Linked DNA regions of Homo sapiens: regions 1 and 2 are each linked to region 3. The links are contacts of gene promoters, found by promoter capture Hi-C in blood cells and fetal thymus (Javierre and others, 2016). All regions are on one chromosome and are shown on one strand. Each heading gives the region's core, a stretch centred on a gene start or on the middle of the fragment in contact. The rest is flanking DNA. Distances are from core to core; before and after follow the strand shown. Region 1 has its middle 60 kb from the start of GNA14. Region 2 overlaps GNAQ (G protein subunit alpha q). Region 3 holds the start of GNAQ (G protein subunit alpha q).

The links. The method cuts DNA at HindIII sites, captures the fragments that hold promoters and counts their contacts. A CHiCAGO score of 5 or more calls a contact.
Region 1: a fragment that was not itself captured here is called in contact with the fragment with the promoter of GNAQ in region 3 in 2 of 17 cell types (neutrophils and monocytes); the score reaches 7.2 in neutrophils.
Region 2: a contact is called between a fragment that was not itself captured here and the fragment with the promoter of GNAQ in region 3, in 5 of 17 cell types (total CD4 T cells, activated CD4 T cells, fetal thymus and 2 more). The highest score is 6.7, in total CD4 T cells.

What each region holds. Positions count from the first base shown.
Region 1 is chr9:77,707,472-77,710,171 of GRCh38, forward strand. No RefSeq gene overlaps it. Among named protein-coding and RNA genes, the nearest start is that of GNA14, 60 kb to the left of the region's middle. RefSeq lists enhancers at 262-556, 2,214-2,263. The HindIII fragment of the contact is 4,148 bases long and covers 1-2,700 here.
Region 2 is chr9:77,727,000-77,729,699 of GRCh38, forward strand. It overlaps GNAQ (G protein subunit alpha q), which reads right to left. Exons shown (of 7, transcript NM_002072.5): 6 at 1,515-1,668. Among named protein-coding and RNA genes, the nearest start is that of GNA14, 80 kb to the left of the region's middle. The HindIII fragment of the contact is 3,517 bases long and covers 1-2,700 here.
Region 3 is chr9:78,030,362-78,033,061 of GRCh38, forward strand. GNAQ (G protein subunit alpha q) reads right to left here and starts at 1,450. Exons shown (of 7, transcript NM_002072.5): 1 at 739-1,450. The coding sequence starts at 874. RefSeq lists an enhancer at 639-1,533. The HindIII fragment of the contact is 11,535 bases long and covers 1-2,700 here.

The DNA.
Region 1 (2,700 bases), core at 141-2,640, 320 kb before region 3:
GTTGAACACATGTTCAGTGCAAAATTTGCAATCATAAAAATTCCAACTTTCTGCTCAGTAGGAAGTGGAGAAATTTGGAAAAATTTAGTTCACTGGGCTAAGATTTCCCTGCCAAAGAGTTAGATTGTTGGCTGTGTGAACTAGGGGAATGACTGAGGAACAAAATCTTTAATATTTGTATTCAGGATGACTGATTCCGAGAGACAATACAGGGTAGAAACAATATGTCCACGAAAGGAAGGTATTAATTTTGATATCCACTTGAGTATTATTTTACTGGATAATTGACATCAGGAAGGTTAGGGTTACAAGAGCAGCTTGCAGGCTTAGCTGAAAGCAAGGCCTGTGTCATGGTGGGGCAGGAAGCCAATAGGTAGAAGTCAGTGTGCACTTGGTCCATTTGGTGTTTCATCATCACTCGACTGCACTAATGCTTAAAGAATGTGCTTCGCATAGTTTGCTGTCCACATCATTTATTTTCTCAAAACACATCTATTTCTTGGAGAACTCATGATTTCAAGTATCTGCTTTTGAAAGTCTTGAGCTATTTATGAAACACAAGTCATTCTGCAGAAGATTCAGACTAAGGGACAATTATTGCTACTCTGTAGGTAACATCTTTTTTTTCCTCTAGATTCTTTCAAGATTTTTTCTTTACCTTTGATTTTTCACAGTTTGAATATCATATGTATATGTGTAGTTGTGGGGTGTTTTTTGGCATTCATCCTGCTTGGTGTTCTCTGAGCTTGTTAGATCTGTGGTTTGGTGTCTAACATTAATTTGCAGAAAATGGGGAAGTATCATTCATTACTTCAAAAACTTCTTCTATTTCTTTCTCTCTTTATTCTCCTTGTGGTATCCCCATTATACCTATTATAACTTTTGTAGTTGCCCCACAGTTCTAGGATATTCTGTTCTTTTTTTCTTAGTCTTTTTTTTTTCTTTTCAGTTTCAGAAGTTTCTATTGAGATATTCTCAAACTCTGCATCTTTTTCCTCGTCTATGTCTAGCCTACTACTCAAAGGCATTCTTTATTTCTGTTAAAGTGTTTTTTATCTCTATCATTTTCTTTTCATGCTTTCTTGGAATTTCAGTCTCTGTGCCTACATTTCCCATCTGTTCTCACACATTCTCTACTGTGTATCCACTAGAGCCCTTAGCATATTAGTCATAGTTGTTTTAAATTTCTACTCTGAAAATTCCAACATCCCTGACATATTTGAGTCTCATCTTGCTTGCTCTGTCACTTCATACTGTGTGTTTTTTTCCTTCTAGTATGCCTTGTAATTTTTTTCTTGATATCTGTTCATGATGCAGTAGATGAAAGGAACTGCTGCATAGAGGCCTTTAGTAACATGGGGGAAAAGGAGGCTTTTTATGTTCCTATGATTAAGTGTCAGTCTTACAGAGAGTCTGTACCTCTGGACTCTGAACTTTACACATGCTTCTCAATCTTCTTCCCGTCCTTCAGCAGGACAGGATGGCCAGTGTGTGCTGCAGTTAGGTATTTCCCTTTCTCCAGGTTGGTTAGACTCTGGTAAAATCTGAATAGTTTAGGCTCTGATAAAAAGTTTCTCTTGGTTGGGCGTGATGGCTCACACCTGTAATCCCAACACTTTGGGAGGCTGAGTTGGGTGGATCACGAGGTCAGGAGATCGAGACCATCCTGGCTAACACGGTGAAACCTTGCCTCTACTAAACATACACACACACACAAAAAATTAGCCGGGCATGGTGGTGGGTGCCTGTAGTCCCAGCTACTCAGGAGGCTGAGGCAGGAGAATGGCGTGAACCTGGGAGGCGGAGCTTGCAGTAAGCCGAGATCGCGCCACTGCACTCCAGCCTGGGTGACAGAGCAAGACTTCGTCTCAAAAAAAAAAAAAAAGTTTCTCTTGAGGACAGGCCTTGTTAAGACAAACAGGATGGTCTGGCATATTTCAAAATGCTTCATTTCCCCCTCCTTCTACCAGAAGCATGAGGGGATTTTCCCCTGATAATCACTGTGAGAGCCTGCTTGAGCTCCTGGAATTAAAACTCGCCAAAGTATGAGTGTCTCCCATGACTGGGTAGTCTGGAGTTTCAACTCTCAGAGTTGTACACATTGAACCTTCCAAAATGCATCAATTACTGTTTAGGTTTTTGCATCCTGGCACTGGTTTTGGTAGAGGCTTTTTCTCCTGGGTTTCTGCTTCCATAAGTAGTGATTCTCTGTATTTGCCTGTCTCTCCAGTTTGAGGACAATGGTTTACCCTGTGACTTCACTTCTCTGAGGGATCTAAGAAGAGTTATTGGTTTTTCAGTTTGTTCCGCTTTTTAGTTCTTCTTAGGGTGGAGTTGTAACTGCCAAGCTCCTTATATGCCAGACCAGAAAGCAGAAGTCACTACTATCTGAGTTTAAGGATTTTTATCACCCCAAAATGAAACCCTTTGTTTTGTTTTTTAGTGTTTTTTTTTTTTTTCTTCTCTCTCTGCTTTTCAGTTTTGGAAGTTTCTACTGACATATCTTCAGGCTTAAAGATTCTTTCCTCAGCCATGTCCAGTCTACTAACGAAGCCATCAAAGGCATACTTAATTTCTATTACAGTGTTTTTGATTTCTATTATTCCTTTTCTTTTTTCTTAGAATTTCTTCCTTTATGCTTTCATTGCCCATTTGTTCTTGCAGGTTGTCTACTTTTTCCATTAGAGCCCTTAGCATATT
Region 2 (2,700 bases), core at 102-2,601, 300 kb before region 3:
TGTGGCTATGTCTCAATAAAACTTTATTCATAAAACCAGGTGGTGGGCCATAAGGGAGAGATGTGATTATCTTGCCAAATAAATAAACTTTTTTTTTTTTTTTTTTGAGACAGGGTCTCCCATCACCCAGGCAGGAGTATAGTGGCAGGATCATGGCTCATTGCAGTCTTGACCTCTTGCCAACTCCTGCCTCATTTTTTATAGATAGAGGTCTCGTTACATTGCCCAGGCTGGGCTTGAACTCCTGTGCTCAAGTGATCCTCTCACCTCAGTCTCCCAAAGTGCTGGGATTACAGGTGTGAATCACCACACCTGGCCACATAGACTCTTATAGGGCAGCAGTCGTGACTCTCACTTGTTTTACATAGTGGCTACATGTGGATGCATTTTGTTACCAATCACCAAGTGTTCAAGTGTTTCTCAGAATGGGTTGGGTGTCTAGTTGTCCAGGATTTCACAGTCTAGTTGGGGAGGGTAAGATCCTTTTCTAAGAACAAAGCAAATAATGCAGAGCCATAGGAGTAGTGAAGTGGATGCTATAGATTCTAAGTGCTGCACAAAGAGCTTAACACTGGGTTACTATTAGTAATGGTGGTGGGACTTCATTGGGCTATGAAGTTTCAAAAAAGGAAGTATTTCCTGAGTATTCATAAGTGTCCTACGTGTCAGGCATCATGCTAAACGTACACATATGTTATATACTACAGTGCACAAAACAATCCTATGAGTTTGGTCGTAAGGCCCAGAAAAATCAAGTGACTTGATGGTAGTTCTACAAATAGGAAGTGTCAGAACTGGGATCTCAACCTTGATAGACTGATTTCAGTGGTGGGCTCTTAACTTCAAAATTGTGTTCCTCCCCAGAGAGAGGAGAGGCAGAGGTGGACGGTAACCAAATGAAAGGGAGACACAGAGGGGACTATAAGAGTTAATACACAATTGGTCAAAACTACTGGATTGTTCCTTTTTCTGATCTGCTATTTCAAAGCAGATGAGTTTCTTTTCTTTTTTTTTTAGACAGAGTCTTGCTCTGTTGCCAGGCTGGAGTGCAGTGGCGCGATCTTGGCTCACTGCAACCTCCGCCTCCCGGGTTCAAGCAATTCTCCTGCCTCAGCCTCCCGAGAAGCTGGGACTACAGGTGCCTGCCACCACGCCCAGCTAATTTTTATATTTTTAGTAGAAACGGGGTTTCACCATGTTGACCAGGATGGTCTCGATCGCTTGACCTCGTGATCCGCCTGCCTCGGCCTCCCAAAGTGCTGGGATTACAGGCGCTCGCCACTGTGCCCAGCCATGAGTTTCTTTTTCTATGACTTTTAGCATTGTTAAGGAATGCAATGTTTTGTGTCACTAAAAGACAGGGCAAACAAGAATTCCTACTGTATCAGTTTCAACACGCAGGCTGCACAGGGCAAGGGCAGCAATGGTGCACTGTAGTGCGTTAACTCCCACACTGGGGTTTGGAGACAAAACCTATTCACAGCTACTGAGCTGTGGTATGAGTGCTGACTTACCATCATATTCTGGGAAGTAGTCGACTAGATGGGAATACATGATTTTCTCCTCTAGAAGATCTTTCTTGTTTAAGAACAGAATAACCGAGGAGTTCTGGAACCAGGGGTATGTGATAATTGTTCTAAAGAGAGCCTTGCTTTCCTCCATTCGGTTCTGGAAAAAAAAAAAAAATCAGAAAAAACAAGGAGTGAATTACATGATTACTTAATTTGTGAATTGTGTTTATTTTATAAGTCCAACCCATCTTTTGTATACGACCAGTTTTTGTAGCCCTGTGTTGGATTTGTCAGGATTTATATGCAAATGATTCATGACACACATTGGCTGTTTTCATTATGCAAACTCTCAGGCTGACAAGCAGAAGAGAGTAATAATAATAAAAATCAGCTAAAATAGCTCTTACGGTTGAAAGAGAAAATAATTGAAAGCCTAGAGAATCATGTTGTGAATCTGGAACACTGTCATAAATTCCCATCAAAAATCATTCATTAATGACTAAATATTTGAGATCTGAACTAAGGACTAGATATGGCTTCATTTTGTATTTCTTAAGCTATATTTATTTGGGGCCTCACAATTAACTCTATTCTAAGCAATCAAAACAGTTACTTCTTTGTCAAAAGCATATCTATATTTCTAGATGTTTTCTAGAGTTATTACTCTACACACACACATACACACACCCTTTATAAACACATGGAAAATGTTGTAAGATCAAACATTTCCTGTTCATGAGTGCATGCTTTCTCCCTATGTTTCACTATACTATTAATATAGAATTGTGAAGACACACATAGTAATTATGTGGAGATAAAAATGTAATATTTCTCACTTTCAGCATCTGTGAGTAAGTGTTCTCACCTGAAGCTACACTTTCAAGCCTACCTTGGTAACAGAAACCCTAAATGGATTCTGAAGAAAATTAGTCAGCTTGCTACTATAAATGAAGATGCTATTTGAGGCTGTTCCTGAGTTAAATCATTCCTCTGAAAAAAAAAACATATCAGCCAAAAACTAGAGGGCCTCAGAGCTTCTTTCGTCTCTCCTTACCATTCTTTCTCCCATAGACTCACCTCTCTAAATCATTCCTACACTTGGGTTACAGATGAAGGCAGCAGATTTGGGAATTCTCCTTCCCATGAGGAGATAAAAGCCAGGATGTATGGGCATGCTTCATCCTGCACA
Region 3 (2,700 bases), core at 200-2,699:
CACCATCCACTGGCCAACTCTTCTAGGCTCCCTCCTTTCGATGGTCTGGTGGCTAGAGAACAGCACTTGTGTGACACATTTGGGCTTGCCCTCCCGCCTCGCCCCCAGTACACAGACCCTTTCCTTGGAGGGCCAACCACTTGGCTTCCTCACCATGAGTGCTCCGGGAATCCAGCTGCGAGTCTGCCCACCGTTCCCCCATTCCCTCCTGACCCCATAGGGCACTGATAATGGATGCACACCGGCCACTCCACCGCAGGCCATCCCCCAACGTGCCCCGGCTCCGCTCGCCACCCGCTGGGCCACACACACGGCTCCCCACGCCACCACCCCATGGGGTGCCGCGGCCACGACACTGGAAGTTCAACCCCTCTGCCCACCTTTCCACCCCCGCGCCTCTGGTCGGAGTGATCTGCCATTTAGCAGATGCACAGCAGATAAGGTACAGCCCTCAGGGACACGAAAAGGAACAAGCCAAGGCACCGGGCAGGGCAGCCCCGACCCCTGTGCTGCGTGTGTGTGTCGCTGTGTGTGTGTGTGTGTGTGTGTGTGTGTGTGTCTGTGTGTAACGCGCCCGCGCGCCCGCGCGGGTGAAGGCAGTGGCCGGGGGCGCGCCCGGGAGGGTAGGGGCGAACCGCGGGCGCCGGGGGGCGGGGGCGCCGAAGGCAGCTGCCCCGCAGGGCCAAGGATGGTGGGCTGGGGGCGCAGAGGCCCGGCGGGGCCCCGGACGGTACTCACCGAGCAGCAGCAGCTTGAGCTCCCGGCGGGCGTCCCGCTTGTCCCTGCGGAGCTGCCGCTCGATCTCGTCGTTGATCCGCCGGGCTTCCTTGGCCTCCTCGCTCAGGCAGCACGCCATGATGGACTCCAGAGTCATTCTTCCAAAGTGCCTCCGCTGCAGCCCCGCCGGCACCCCCTGCTCACAGCGCGCACACACACCCTCCCGCCCTCGCTCCCCCGAGGCAGCGGTGGCCGCCGAGCCCCCGCCGCCCGGGCGCGCGTCCGGGACGAGCTCCGGGAACCGCCGCGGGGGCGGCGGCCAGGGCCGGGGCCACCAGGTGGGCCGGGGGCGCGGTGGGAGCGGATAGTCTGGGCCGACGGGAGAAGAGAGGCGGGCGCGGGAGGCGGGCGCTGGCTCGGGGGGCGCGTGAGAGAAGGCCGCCGCGCCCGGCCTCGCTCAGACGCCCGCGCCTCCTTCCCCGGGAACAGGCGGCCCGCCTCGCCCCCCGAGCCGCCGCCGCCGCCGCCGCCTGCGAGGCTCCCCTACGCCGTGCGCCTGGCGGCGAGAGCTCATTCACCGGGGTGTCCCCGCAGCGAGCGGCCGCCGACGGCTCCCCGCGCCCGGCGCGCCCGCTCCTCGCCGCCGCCTGACACGGCTCCCGGGCGCCCTCGGCCCTGTCCGCGCCCACCGCCCGGCTCGCGCGCAGACCCGGTTCCCGTCCCGCCCGGCAACCGCGCGCTCCTCCGCCTCCGCCTCCGCCCCCGCCCCCGCCAGACGCCCACCCCCTGCCCCGATTGCCAGGCGCGGAGCGGCTGCTCAGTGCGAGCCCTCCCCCTCGCCACACACACACATTTTCTTCTTTCTCTGAACTGGAGCACAGATCCGGGAGGGAGGAGGCGGCGGCGAAAGGAGGAGGAGGAAGAGGCGGAGGGGATGGGCGCGGGAGGAGGGAGCCGGGAGGCGGTGCCGCCCGGCCCCTCCTGGAAGGCTTTCCTGGGCTCGCGGCCGCCGCGGCGCGCCTCCCAGTGCGGCTCTCGCCTCGCCCGCGCGGCTCCCGGGCTGGGCCGGCCCCCGCGGGCTCTGCGGACGCCTACTGCTCCCGCACCCTCGGCAGAGTCCGCGGGCGCAGCAGTCACGGCCGCCCCCGGCCGAAGTCGGGGCCAGACCCGGCCGCCGACGCGCAGCCCGAGCCGGCGGCCGCCGTTGCGTGCCAGGGCCGCAGCCGACCTGCGGCTGCCGTCCGGCCGGGCGTGGTGAGACAGGAATATGGCGGCCTCTGCCTGCCTCAGCCCACCGGCCCGGGAGCGCGGCCGCGGCCCCTGCTGAAGTCGCGGGAGGCGGCCCCGCGGAGCCCCGCACGCGCTCCCTGCGGCGCCGGCGCTGGCGTCCGCCGCTCCCGGGCTGTGCCTGTCTGCTCCACGGGGTCGCTCCTCAGCCGTTTCTGTGTTTCCCGTTCCTATTTCTAAAACGCCATTCGGTTAGAAACTCTCACGTCACCTCTGACACCGGTGCAGTCTTAGAAAATAAGCTCCTCTATACTGTGTGGGGCTACTGGGGAAGGGAAGGGAAGGAATTGGCACCGGTGCCCAGAGGTGTAGGGGGAGATTCACAGGCGAAGCTGTTCGCAAAGTAACGTGAGATAGAAATCTAAATCCTGAACAGAGAAAGGAAGCTGCCCAAGTTTCCAAGAGCCTCCCGATAGGTTCCAACTTTTCATGCCTTTGTTTTTTTGGTGGTTGTTGGTTGTTTTTGTTTTTTTAAGTTGTTTTTGTTTTTGTTTTACAAGTTCTCTTGTTTCTGAGAAGGCACACGATGTTTAGCCGCCGAGTAATCGAATTTACTCTTCTAGACTGAGATTGAATTATGGATGACTTATGGGAAAATGTAAAATAATGTGGAATAAAAGGAAAGGAAAGAATGAAATAGAAGAGAAACTAAGGAGGCCCCAGCAAAACGGCATTCTAGTTTTTTTGATTTGCAAT